Regions from separate parts of the Homo sapiens genome. Here all the other regions are linked to region 4. Evidence: promoter capture Hi-C in human tissues and cell types (Jung and others, 2019). All regions are on one chromosome and are shown on one strand. Each heading gives the region's core, a stretch centred on a gene start or on the middle of the fragment in contact. The rest is flanking DNA. Distances are from core to core; before and after follow the strand shown.

The links. The method cuts DNA at HindIII sites, captures the fragments that hold promoters and counts their contacts. A contact is called where the count stands out against the background at its distance.
Region 1: a fragment that was not itself captured here is called in contact with the fragment with the promoter of MTFMT in region 4 in 5 of the 25 tissues and cell types used here (aorta, dorsolateral prefrontal cortex, mesendoderm cells and 2 more).
Region 2: a contact is called between a fragment that was not itself captured here and the fragment with the promoter of MTFMT in region 4, in 2 of the 25 tissues and cell types used here (aorta and mesenchymal stem cells).
Region 3: a contact is called between a fragment that was not itself captured here and the fragment with the promoter of MTFMT in region 4, in 7 of the 25 tissues and cell types used here (H1 embryonic stem cells, aorta, heart right ventricle and 4 more).
Region 5: a contact is called between a fragment that was not itself captured here and the fragment with the promoter of MTFMT in region 4, in 3 of the 25 tissues and cell types used here (dorsolateral prefrontal cortex, lymphoblastoid cells and mesenchymal stem cells).

Annotation. Positions count from the first base shown.
Region 1 is chr15:65,125,900-65,128,599 of GRCh38, forward strand. All of the region lies in intron 2 of PDCD7 (programmed cell death 7), which reads right to left. Among named protein-coding and RNA genes, the nearest start is that of PDCD7, 6.6 kb to the right of the region's middle. The HindIII fragment of the contact is 5,174 bases long and covers 1-2,700 here.
Region 2 is chr15:65,107,359-65,110,058 of GRCh38, forward strand. The region is part of intron 1 of UBAP1L (ubiquitin associated protein 1 like); the gene reads right to left. Among named protein-coding and RNA genes, the nearest start is that of UBAP1L, 6.5 kb to the right of the region's middle. The HindIII fragment of the contact is 4,545 bases long and covers 1-2,700 here.
Region 3 is chr15:65,147,395-65,150,094 of GRCh38, forward strand. CLPX (caseinolytic mitochondrial matrix peptidase chaperone subunit X) reads right to left here. Exons shown (of 14, transcript NM_006660.5): 14 at 825-2,700. Among named protein-coding and RNA genes, the nearest start is that of PDCD7, 15 kb to the left of the region's middle. The HindIII fragment of the contact is 4,931 bases long and covers 1-2,700 here.
Region 4 is chr15:65,028,315-65,031,014 of GRCh38, forward strand. MTFMT (mitochondrial methionyl-tRNA formyltransferase) reads right to left here and starts at 1,325. Exons shown (of 9, transcript NM_139242.4): 1 at 1,091-1,325. The coding sequence starts at 1,299. RefSeq lists silencers at 738-1,037, 1,288-1,477. The HindIII fragment of the contact is 8,500 bases long and covers 1-2,700 here.
Region 5 is chr15:64,921,073-64,923,772 of GRCh38, forward strand. ANKDD1A (ankyrin repeat and death domain containing 1A) reads left to right here. Exons shown (of 15, transcript NM_182703.6): 4 at 849-947. Among named protein-coding and RNA genes, the nearest start is that of ANKDD1A, 11 kb to the left of the region's middle. The HindIII fragment of the contact is 3,028 bases long and covers 1-2,700 here.

The sequences.
Region 1 (2,700 bases), core at 162-2,661, 98 kb after region 4:
GGTGAAGGAGGAGCAAAGTTATATCTTACATGGTGACAGGTAAAGAGGGCGTGTGCAAGGAAACTCTCCTTTATAAATCCATCAGATCTCATGAGACTTATGATCACAAGAACAGCATGTGAAAGACCTGTCCCCATGATTCAATTACCTCCCACCAAGTCCCTCCGACGACATGTGGGAATTATGGGAGCTACAATTCAAGATGAGATTTGGGTGGGGACACAGCCAAACCATATCACCAAGACTACACAATCTCTCTCTAAGCACTTGCCACTTTCCAGAAGGAAGCAGGGAGTCTATCTTTTCCTCCCATCTCTCTGACCTCTCTTGGTCTCTTTTTTGCTCTCTTCATCTTCTACCTTGATTTTGACATTCCCTATGATTTTGTCTTTTTGGCCCTCATCTCATGCTGTACAATCTCCTTAAGGTCATTCTGACTCATGGCTACATGCTAATGAACTCTTATCCAGGATGTACCACACACACCTCAAACTCGACAGGTCCCCAACTGAACTTGTCAACCCTAAACCTGTTCCTCCTCCCTTGTTTTCCTTCTTAATTAGAATGGTATCGGCCAGGCACAGTGGCTCACACCCTTAATCCTAGAACTTTGGGAGGCCAAGATGGGAGAATCGCTTGAGCCCAGGAGTTCGAGACCAGCTTGGGCAACATGGCGAAACTCTATCTCTACAAAAAATTTAAAAATTAGCCAGGTGTGGTGGTGTGCACCTGTAGTCTCTACTACTCAGGAGGCTGAGGTGGGAGGATCGCTCCTGCCTGGGAGTATAAGGCTGCAGTGAATTATGATTGCACCACTGCACTTCGGCTTGGGCGACAGTGCAAGACCCTGTCTTTTAAAAAAAAAAAAAGCAAAAAAAAAAAGCTATCTTCACTTATTCAGTAGATGAGGCTAGAATCTGGAAGACATTTCATTGTTTTTCCCTTTAGTTCCTGTACTCTGAGTTCCTTAAATTATTTATTTATATGTACATGGGTATATACACATATACCTTTATTCATTATCTCTCAATTCTTTGACTTGAGAATTATTCACTAATAATTCTGAATTACTCAATTATTCACTATCACTTGAATTACTCATTACCTCTCAATTCTCCTACACACTGACGTCACTCAGCTTATGCTTCCATACTACCCGTGCCCAATAGCCTTACCCATCTCTCTGCCCTTCTCTCTCTCTCCTGGATGCTCCAAAACTTTCTCTGCTCTACTGGCACTGATCTTTGCCATCATTTCACTTAAAAACTTTCAGCGGGGCCAGGCGTGGTGGCTCACGCCTGTAATCCCAGCACTTTGGGAGGCCGAGGCAGGTGGATCATGAGGTCAGGAGATCGAGACCATCCTGGCTAACAAGGTGAAACCCCGTCTCTACTAAAAATACAAAAAATTAGCCGGGCGCGGTGGTGGGCGCCTGTAGTCCCAGCTACTCGGGAGGCTGAGGCAGGAGAATGGCGTGAACCCGGGAAGCGGAGCTTGCAGTGAGCCGAGATTGCGCCACTGCAGTCCGCAGTCCGGCCTGGGCGACAGAGCGAGACTCCGTCTCAAAAAAAAAAAAAAAAAAAAACTTTCAGCGGTTCCCCAAAGCTTTAAGTATAAGTGAGAACTCTAGCATAGCCCATAAGACAATTTGCAACGTGGTCCTGCTTAAACATCCAGCCTCATCATTCAGCACTTAGTTGGAGGTGCACACATCTTGAAGAGAGAAGTTAGCTGCTCATTTTAAATATGCATGCAACCAGCTGCTACTTACCAAATCATTTTACATTCAAGTCACTTAATGCCACAAAGTCTGTTTATTTCTATAGATAATGATTTTCCTAAAATTTCCTCCTCCTTTTGGACCAAAGTGAGGAAGATTAATATTGGGAAATGCTGGTAAATTCACTTGGCAGAAGTTTACTGAGCACTCACCTCATAGAGGATGTGAGGTGTGGGAATATTAAATAGCTCTCAGGTTTTGCCTTCTAGTGAAAAAGAGATGGGTAGACAAAGCAGATGCTAACTTCCCTCTGATTTACAAATGCCCTGAGAGTACCACAATGGAGGCATCTGTTTCTGAGGTCTGGATGTGAATTAGCCGCTCTGAAGGCTAGTATGCAAAAGCCAATCACTTAGCTAGCAAACGAGCCTGGGTGAATACAAAATGGTCATATTCCAACACAACTTTCTTAAGGGTCTAAAAGAATCCCAGTTTTCATTTACATTTTAAACAACACATGGGAAATCATTTGTTAGAGTGGCATTTGCTAATTTGTACACTCTCAAATATCTCTGGTGAATACCAAAGGCCTACAATCTACTAAATAAATCAGCATGTGGTCCAAAGCAGGTGCAAGTGAGAAGCAACAGGAGGTTACCTCAGCCCAGATCAGGGAAGGATGAAGGATGCTGCATGTGTATTTGGTTTTGAATAGTGAGATCTTAAAATGGCAAAGATGGGACTGAGGGCCCTCCAGATGAACAGAATGACAACAGCTAAGATCCAGACAGGCAAATGGAAAGCACAATTGGGTAACTTCTAGAAAGCCAGCATGGTTGAAACAAACTTCGGTGGAGAAGCTTGAACTGCCTGGCTATAGTGTCTGGTGCTTCCTCCAGAGGCAAGAAGAGACCAGTGACATGAAGGGAAGGTGGGGAAATCCACACAGTCTGCAATCCCTGCCCTGTCCAACCATTCAT
Region 2 (2,700 bases), core at 90-2,589, 79 kb after region 4:
GAAAAAAAAAAGGAATTACATCTCTCTATATAAATAGTAAATCATGTAAATGGACTCTTCTAAAAATTTTATTAGAAATGGAACATTTTAGGCCAGGTGCAGTGGCTCACACCTGTAATCCCAAATCCCAGCACTTGGGGAAGTCGAGGTGGGAGGATTATCTTGAGGTCAGGAGTTGGAGACCAGTCTGGCCAACATGGTGAAACCCCGTCTCTACTAAAAATACAAAAATTAGCTGGGCATGGTGGTGGGTGCCTGAAATCCCAGCTACTTGGGAGACTGAGGCAGGAGAATCGCTTGAATCTGGGAGGCAGAGGTTGCAGTGAGCCAAGATCACACAATTGCACTCCAGCCTGGGCAACAAGAAGGAAACGCTGTCTCAAAAAAAAAAAAAAAAAAAAAGGAAAATTTAAAAAGTTACCATTTATATTAGTATAGTTCTCTAGGACTAAATCTAACACAAGATGTATGAGACCGCTACACGGAAAACTATAAAACATTTGGTTAAATGGAGGAACATACCACGTTCAAGGATTGTAAAACTGAATCTTGTAAAGATAGCAGTTCTCCTCCAATTAATTTATTCATCCCATGTATCAAAATTCCATCACTTTTTTTTTTGGTAGAAATTGGCAAGCTAATTCTAAAATTAAATGAAATGCAAAGGACCAGGAAAAGCCAAGAGACTCTTGGAGAAGCAACACAGTGGAAGACTTTCACTATCAGATAGCAAGACCTTCAAGTTATGAGAATGAAGAGAGTGACTTAAAGACTTACAAAGAGACCAACAGGACAAAAAAGAAAGTCCAGAAACATATCCACACATGAATCTTTGACTTATGACAAAATTGGCTCTGTAGAGTAGCTGGAAAGGGAAAGTCTTTTAAATAAATTGTTCTGGATTAATTTGATATCCATCTGGGGAAAAAAAAAAACAAAAACAATATTGACCTCTACCTCATGTCATACCTAAAAATCAATTCCAGGTGGACTGTAGATTTAAATGTAAAAGGTAAAATAATAAAACTCAAAGATAAAAATGAAAGACTATATTCATGGCCTTGTAATAGTCAAAACATTTCTTAAGTTACAAAAGGGCTAACGGGCCAGGCACGTTGGCTCATGCCTATAATCCCAGCACTTTGAGAGGCCCAGGCAGGAGGATCAGTTGAGGCCAGGAGATTGAGATGAGCATGGGCAACAAAGCAAGACCCCTATCTCTACAAAAAATACAAAACTAGCCAGGTATGGTGGCATACACCTACAGCCCCAGCTACTCGGGAGGCTGAAGTAGGAGGATTGCTTAAGCCTGGGAGGATGAGGCTGCAGTAAGATGAGTGAGCTGTGAGCCCAGGTTGCACTCCAGCCTGGGCAACAAAATGAGACACTGTCTCAAATAAATAAATAAATAAATAAATAAATTAAATTTAAAAAAACACAACAACAACAACTCCAAAAGAGACTAACCATGAAGGAAAATTCTGATAAACTGGATTACATTAAAGTTAAGAACTTCCGCCAGGTGCAGTGGCTCACACCTGTAATCCCAGCACTTTGGGAGGCTAAGGCAGGCAGATCGCTTGAGGTTGGGAGATCGAGACCATCCTGGCCAACATGGTGAAACCCTGTTTCTACTAAACATACAAAAATTAGCCAGGCGTGGTGGCACACATCTGTAATCTCAGCTACTAGGGAGGCTGAGGCAGGAGAATCGCTTGAACCTGGGAGACGGAGGTTGCAGTGAGCCAAGATCACACCACTCTACTCCAGCCTAGGTGACAGAGCGAGACTCTGTCTCAAAAAAAAAAAAAAAAGAAAGAAAAAAAAGTTAAGAACTTCCATTTGGCCGGGCGTGGTGGCTCACACCTGTAATCCCAGCACTTTGGAGGCCGAGGTGGGCGGATCACAAGGTCAGGAGATCGAGACCATTCTGGCTAACATGGTGAAACCCCGTCTCTACTAAAAATACAAAAAATTAGCTGGGCATAGTGGTGGGCGCCTGTAGTCCCAGCTACTCAGGAGGCTGAGGCAGGAGAATGGCATGAACCCAGGAGGCGGAGCTTGCAGTGAGCCGAGATCACGCCACTGCACTCCAGCCTGGGTGACAGAGCGAGAATCTGTCTCAAAAAAAAAAAAAAAAAAAAAAACTTCCATTCATCAGAATATACCATTAAGAGAGTTAAAACAAAAACAAAAACAAATCACAGAGTGGGAGAAGATATTTGCAACAAATCTATATGACAAAGGACTCATATCCAGTATATACAAAGAACTTCTATAAACAATAAGAAATGGGCAAGAGACTTTTAATATGCACTTTACAAAAGAGGATATCCAAATAGCCAATATGATAAGTTGTTTAACTTCATTAGTCATCAGGGGAATGCAAAATAAAACAATGAGATACCACTACACAAACATACAACCATTAATTTAAGGTTAAAATTAAAAAGCTTCACAATATCAAGCGATGATGAGGATGTGGAACATCTATAACTCTCATTCACTGTTGGTCAGAAAGTCACTTAGTCAACAGTATCTACTAAACCTGAAAGCCAAGAATTAAGAACTCATTCACACATCACTTCTTGGCTTTTTGGGTTAGATCAAGACTAGTATCTGTCCTTCGTTTAGCAATACAACAGCCAGGAATTTAATTTTTGATATATTTTAAACTACATTAAATATTGAGTCTGTTGC
Region 3 (2,700 bases), core at 56-2,555, 120 kb after region 4:
TAGGACAGGAAATACTAAGCAGTGTTTGGATGCCACTGGGAATAATTCAGAAGGAAGGACACAGATACTATAGTAGAGACATGATCAAAAGAATTAAAGGCCTTGAGAAATGAGAGGGGATGATGAGACCCAGAGCATGTGGGGAGTGACTGAGTTTTGTAGGAGGGATACTTCAGTTGTAACTAGAGAGAAAGGTTGAGTGATGGAGTAGATAGATTTATAGATGGTGGGATGATGAATTCCATCAATGGTTTTTCAATGAAATGTGAAGCAAGATCCTTAGCTAGATGGAGAGGAGAATATTAAATGGTCATTTCAGAGTATTAACAAGAAGTTACAGTTGTTGCTTATTTCTTACCTCCTACAGCTTCCTAGTTGTTGTTTTACACTTCTGAGATTTTGATTTAGTTCTCATTATTCTTTTCTGGCAAATTTCTACTTGTTCTTCCAGACTTATCTAGGCCATCACTTTCTATGTCACCACACCTGGTACCTATCTCACTTCCACTATTAAAATACACTTTAGTTTGTATTTGTTTCCCCTACAAGACTAGTAAGATTCCTGAAAAACTTGGCCTGTGTCCCTAGTGTCAAGCGGGACATTTAAGTAAGGATTTTTGATAAATGTTTAACAGACATTGTCTGTGGAATCTACAGCTAGAATTTATCTGATATGGAAGTGCCAAGGATTAATCAATCCCTAGAATGAAGCAGCTCATATGACATCTGTGCCCTTTTAAAAATGGCACTGTTTGGCTGTGCTTGTTGTTGTCAATGCAGAGTGCTCCTGCACCATTGCTGTATGGACACACCACCACGTTGGCTTTCATTTAGTCTTTTTGTTTTATTCAAATGTCAAAATGTAAGTTCCAAGATACAAATTATGTTTGATTTAAAAACATCGACTATGCTTTGTTAACAACTTCCAAAGCCAAATGTAAGTTGTTGTGACTAAAATGCCTCCCCAGTACATTTCTGGAGGATTAACCTTAATATGTTTAGCAGCTAGTCTGATTTCCACTCTACAAAAAGGAAAATGATGCTATAAGGGAAAGATAATGAACAAAGTTATAATATGTAAGACTTCCTGGGAAGAACTTGAACCATTACTAGGGAGACCAAGGAGAGGTGTTTCTGTTCCATACTATAGCAACCAGCCTTAACACTCTGTAATACAAAGTGCATTTCTGGTCCTACCCAGCCATAAATACCATACATCCCTTTTATTAATTATATCAAAGAAAGCCCAACTCTTCATCAACAAGATTTAGAATTTCCTAATAGCTTTAGTTTTTCCCTAAAAAAAACTGTGTAAAAGGAAAGCTCGAGTCTATAAACCAAAAAAAAAAACCCACAAATATTTACATGTACTCTGATTTAAACAATTTCAAATGAGATTAAACTGAATGAATATAGAACTTGTACCACCATTATAGAAGGAAAGAAAAAAAGCTTAAAAGGTACCCAAATATTTTAATATTTATGGAATTAAATGATACAATTTTCATTAAGACCCCAAATATCCCACCACTTTTTAGCTTTGCTGTATAATGAAGGTTAGTAACTTATATGTTAGTGTGAACACATTTACTTTGGCTGATAGCAAAACATAGATTTTTTAAAATGTTCTAAGAAGCCAAAGAATTAGACCAAAATGTTCAGCACCAAAAAACAAAACAAAAAAACTAGCTCAATACTTCAGGTTAAATACACAATATCAAGAAATTTTATTTAGGTCAGCACATGGCTGTTACTATGACTGATACTGCATGCTATTTCTAGAATTAGATATGTATCTTTCTGGCTGGATGCGGTGGCTCATGCCCGTAATTCTAGCACTTTCAGAGGCCAAGGTGGCCGATTGCCTGAGCTCAGGAGAGACCAGCCTGGGCAACATGGCGAAACCCCGTCTCTACTAAAAATACAAAAAATTAGCCAGGTGTGGTGGTGCACGCCTGTAGTCCCAGCTACTCAGGAGGCTGAGGCATGAGTATCGCTTGAACCTGGGACTCAGAGGTTGCAGTGAGCCAAGATTGTGGCACTGTACTCCAGCCTGGGTGACACAGCGAGACTCTGTCTCAAAAAAATAAAATAAAATAGATATATAACTTTCTGAAGATTTAAGCCAGACTTCAATTCCATGTACTCACCCATAGTACTAAAATGGATTAAAGATGGTAAATAAGGCCGGGTGTGGTGGCTTACGCCTGCAATCCCAGCACTTTGGGAGGCTGAGGCCAGCAGATCACAAGGTCAGGAGTTACAGACTAGCCTGGCCAACAGGGTGAAACCCTGTCTCTACTAAAAATACAAAAATTAGCCAGGTGTGGTGGTGCGTGCCTATAATCCCAGCTACTTGGAAGGCTGAGGCAGGAAAATTGCTTGAACCTGGGAGGCGGAGGTTGCAGTGAGCCAAGATCGCACCACTGCACTTCAGCTTGGGACAGCGTGAGACTCCGCTCAATTAAAAAAAAAAAAAAAAAAAAGATGGTAAATAAATCAGACAACTTGGTAAGAAAATGGCCTTTTTTACAGAACCAATTGGGAAGTTAGTGTCATGCATTAGCAGATAAGACTAGGAATACAGCTAAACCAATTATCAAAATATAGTTCTTCAGGGTATTTTTCAATGAAATGTTTAACTACTTGAAAACTACCTGGTCCAATTTTTTGTTTTCGCCCTGAGACGGAGTCTCACTT
Region 4 (2,700 bases), core at 75-2,574:
CTGAGATGGGATGATTGCTTGATCTTTGAGGTCGAGGCTGCAGTGAGCTATGAGCCGGCCACTGCACTCCAGCCTGGGGGACAGCGCGAGACCTCGCCTCAGAAACAAACAAAAAAAGTGTTGGTATAAATGTATAAATGCAGTGAGAGACGCATGTGACAACAGCAGCCCATGAAGGGTGTGCAAAGGGAACATGGGGTTTCCTTCCGGGTGTGTGCACAGAGGGGTGTGTGGAGGAAGGAAAACCACACAGGGGATTGACGAAGGATTCAATACATGAGGGGCTGCTGTGAAGTATCTGTAGGGAAAAGGAGATGGAGATGACCAAAAAAAGTGGAAGGAGGACTGCGTCAGAAAAAAACAGAATGGGGAAATAAAAAACATTAATTGGGAAAAAGAGGCAGAGAAGTATATACGGTATTGCCACCACATACCATGGACTCTCAGGACTGGTTGGATTTCAAATAATTTTCTTTCCCAGTAAACAAAACTTGTTAAATATTATGAATACTAAATGTATACCTAACAGTTCTGATTTATAAATTTATTCTTTTGAAAACAGGTCGTTTTTGGACTATGTCCTTGTATACAAGGAGCACAGGGGGAGCAAAAGAGCGAGACACGGGTGTGCCGAAGGATGGGGGTCAGGAGGAACTGCAAAGCAGGGAACTTTGAAGTGGGACCTGGTTTTAGTCCGAACCACCTCGGCTGATGACCTTGGGCAATCGCATAACCTCTCTGAGCCACGGATTCCCCACACTCAAAACGGGCAGGGAGGCCGTGGGACTGGCCCGGGGGATGCAGGCAGAGCGCCCAGCCCCAGCTCGGCACAGCGTGGGTGGCAGGGCGCCTGGAGAACCCACAGAGGCGGCGGGGAGTGAGGGGCGCAGACCGCAGGTACTAGGCGCCCAAAGGCTGACCGGCGGGAATGGCGCACCTTCTGGGAGCCAGAAGACGCCGAGATCTGGGCCCACACCGCTCTGCCGCCCATGCTTTCCGCAACCAGAAGTCCAAAACCCTCGGGGCCGGCCGCCCGGGCGCGGCCTGGAGGCCTTCAGCGGCCGGGTCCCCGGATCCCTGGCCCGGGTACCTGGCGGCGTGCAGCGCCCGCAGCGCCTCGCGGGCGAACTGGTCCGTGCCGAAGAAGAGCACCCGCCAGGGAGGCTTCTCGCGGACTCTGGAGTCCCGGCAGTCCTCCCAGCCGAGTCGGGCCAGTGCTCGCCACTGGGGACTCGGCCTCCCACGCCTGGCGCCATGAGCCAGCGGAGGACCCCAACAGCGCCGCACCAACACCCTCATCGCCTCGGCCGCCGGCGGCCGGCCCTGCGCAGGCGCATCGGGGCGGGGACAAGGGTGCAGCCTGGGGAGGGCGGGGCTTGCCTGCTTGGAGGCGGGGTCTGGTTGGAGTTGGTGAACGAATTTGCCCGCTACAGCGGCCCTAGATTTTTGTTCTGTTTATTTGCACTATGTAGCCAATCCTCCAGAATAAGTCTTTCTTTTCTTTTTAAAATCGCTTTATTTATTTATTTATTTATTTATTTATTTATTTCAGAAAGGGTCTTGCTCTGTCGCGCAGGCTGGAGTGCTGTGGCGCGATCTCTGCTTACTGCAACCTCACTGCTCCTGGGCTCAAGGGATCCTCCCACCTCAGCCTCCGGAGTAGCTGGGGTACAGGCACACATCACCATGCTGGGCTGATTTTTTGTAGAGAGAGTATCTCACTATGTTGCCCAGGTCTCAAGCAATCCTCCTGCCTTGGCCTCCCCAAGTGCTGGGGTTACAGGCGTGAGCCACTGCGCCGGCCCAGGATAAGTCTTTTGGTAACAAATCGTGCATGTTTTCAGACAATGAAACCTCATGTATATAGTGCATGTCATTTCCTCAACCATTATAACCAATATTTGCTGAGTACTTCACTCCGTGCCACGTTTTTGCTAAGCATTTTATATTCATTATTCTGGTTAATCATCAGATCAACCTTAGGAGGTAGATACTATTACAAATATGTTACTGAAGAGAAACTGAAGCTCCGTGAAATTAAGGACTTACCAGTGTATAAGGTCCACACAGCTAGTAAAGGACAGAGCAGAGGTGGGACTCTTGTAATTCCAACGCTTGTAATCCTAGCCGTTGGGCCTTCTCAGCGATCCTATGTATTAGGCAAGTCAATTACCCACATTTTGCACCTGAGGAAACTGAGCCTTAGTTACTTGTCTGCAGTTACTTTCTTGAATCGAAGGCTCCATCTTTACTCCTCCCCTGTGGGTTCCTTTGCACACAGAAGGATACCATAGAGGTGATTCCTAGGGAAATGGACAGGGAACCTTATCCCCAGAAGACCTCCGAGGACCGTTAGTGCTTAGATTCTGTATCCCCAAAGCCTCCTTGAGTGGAGTCAGACATCCATGAAACAGGATCTGAGCAGAGACTGAAACCGAATTTTGTTCTAATCTTATTCTCACCACCATTTTTTTTTTTTTTTTTTTTTTTTTTGAGATGGAGTCTCGCTCTGTTTTTCAGGCTGGAGGGCAGTGGCGGGCGATCTTGGCTCACTGCAACCGCTGCTTCCCAGGTTCAGGCGATTCTCCTGCCTCAGCCTCCCAAGTAGCTGGGACATGCGCCACTACACCTAGCTAATTTTTGTATTTTTAGTAGAGATGGGATTCACTATGTTGACCAGGCTGGTCTTGAACTCCTGAC
Region 5 (2,700 bases), core at 144-2,643, 110 kb before region 4:
TGATCCTCCCACCTCAGCCTCCTGAGTAGCTGGGACCACAGGAGTGTGCCTCCACGCCTGGCTTATTTTTACGAAAATGTCTGTAGAGATGGGGGTCCCCCTATTTTGCCCAGTCTGGTTTCAAACTCCTGGGCTCAAGTGATTCACATCTCAGAGTGTTGGGATTACAGGTGTGAACCACCACACCCAGTTATGAAGCTTTATTTGTCAAGTATATATTCTAAGATTGGTTCCTTACAAATTTTTTCTTTTAAAATGGTCTTTCTTTATGAAATGGTGATGAGAGTAAATGGCAGCTGGTTTTTTTGTTTGTTTGTTTTGAGACGAAGTCTCACTCTGTCACTCAGGCTGGAGTGCAGTGGCATGATTTCACCTCACTGCAACCTCCGTCTCCTGGGTTCAAGCGATTCTCCTGCCTCAACCTCCCAAGTAGCTGGGATTACAGGTGCCCACCACCACGCTCGGCTAATTTTTCTATTTTTAGTAGAGACGGGGTTTCACCATATTGGCCAGGCTGGTCTTGAACTCCTGACCTCATGTGATCCTCCTGCCTCAGCCTCCCAAAGTGCTGGGATTACAGGCGTGAGCCACCAAGCCTGGCCGGCAGCTGTCTTATTTTTAAGTTTCATTTAGCAAAAATAAATTTTAAAAGTTTGCAATAGTACATCAGCCTCTATTTAAAAAAAAAAAAATCTTGGTCTTTAAACTCCTAAAGCTTGGAGCTCCCTGGATTAAGTGGCACTTATAGTTCCTTCTGGTTGTATGGTTTAGTCATAAGGCACAGGGCCTGGCTGGCACAGCCACGCCTTCCCACATTCTTCTCACCTCCTCTATGTCCTCTCCCCTAGTTTGGGATGAATGCGCTTCTCCTGTCTGCCTGGTTCGGCCACTTACGAATCCTCCAGATCTTGGTAAACTCAGGGGCCAAGATCCACTGTGAGAGCAAGGTAAGGCCTCAGCTGGTAGACCCCTGTCCCCTCGGCTCCCCTGGCCTGGATGCACAGGTCTCCCCCGACCTCTGTCCCCCACCCCTGCTTGCCCCTCCAGCCCCCAACCTGCCTCTGCCTGTCCCTCTTTCATCTGATCTCCCCCACCTCCCTTTACTATTCGGTGAGTTGGGAGAGTTCCCAGCCCTCTGGCTGGCCTCCTTATTTACAAGAGAGAAATCAAAGTAACTCCCTCAGAGGGTAGTTAGAAAAATTAAATGAGAAGGAGGTGAGGTCTCCTCCACCCTCCTGCCAGGCTCTGCACCCCTTGTGCTCAGTGCGGTGGGGTGAAAGGAGCAAAGCATCATTTACCAAGTGTGGTATGGTGGGCGAGTTTCTCTATCAGCCTGCACTGGGATTTGAGGGAGCAGGGCCCCAGCAAGTGAGAGTGCCTGGAATCCCTCCACTGGTGTCTAACCTTTTAGGGTGTCAGTGGCCCATAGGAAAATGCAAACATTTCTGGGCCAAATCCCTCAGCCAGGAGTTCTCACATGGGTTCTTGGAGAAAATTCAGAGGACCTATGAACTTGGATTGGAAAAAAATGCATATTTATTTTGGCTAACTTCTTGAAAATTTAGCATTTTTTTCTTTCTTTCTTTTGAGATGGAGTCTTGCTGTGTCACCCAGGCTGGAGTGCAGTGGCATGATCTCAGCTCACTGCAACCTCCGCCTACTGGGTTCAAGCAATTCTCTTGCCTCAGCCCCCAGAGTAGCTGGGACTATAGGCGCGTGCCACCACTCCCGGCTAATTAGCATTTTTTCCAATCATGAATGTAGGTAATATTAGTACTTGTGACTTTGTCACTAATAGAAAATTTAGCTATTTTCATATCACATGAAAATTTTTGCAGTTATCTTAAAATACTTCTTACACTTATCATTACATTGAAATTATGGCAGTGATTAGACCCTTCACTAGATCTTGTTGTTTAACGGGTCAGTAAGGAAACACATATGTTACTAGATTGAAAACTTGGTTTGTAATATTTTCATAACTTAATTTCAATATAATTGGTTTCCTTTTATGGTAGGCAGAATAATGGCACCCCAAAGATGTCCATATCCTAATCCCTAGAACCTCTGAACCCCCACAACCTAACACACCAATAGGAATTTGTTGGGTGTGATGTGATATGTGTGAGGTGTGATGAAGGAGGCAGGGCTGGAGTGATGTGAGCCACTAGCCAAGGAATTCGGGCAGCTTCTAGAAGCTGGAAAAGGCCAGGAAATGGATTTTCCCCAAGAGCTTCCAGAAGAAACACAGCATTGCCAACCCAATTTAGAGTTCTGACCTCTAGTATTGTAAAATAATAAATTTATGCTGTTTTATGCCATGAAGCTTATAGTAATTTGTTATAGCAGCAATAGGAAACTAATACGCCATTGTAAGCCTGTGTATTTGATTAATTTTTTTTCCTGTATAATTTTTTTTTGCATTTAAGTAAATATTCTGAGAAGGGGTCTATAGGCTTCACCAGATGTAAAAGGGTTGTGGCACATAAGAGGTCTGTCCCATGCCATTGTTAGGATCCTGTTGGCAGTGGTGGGAGTGCCTGAAAGCATTTGGGTTGGAAAATCCATCCCAGAGAACCATGCCCCTATGTGGTGGGTCACAAGATCTGAACTGGAGTGTGGGAGGGAGGGGCCAGCAGGAGGGCACCCTGTGAATACACCCAGGTTCAAGCTCAGGGTTCTGCTGTCTGGTCCTGCCAG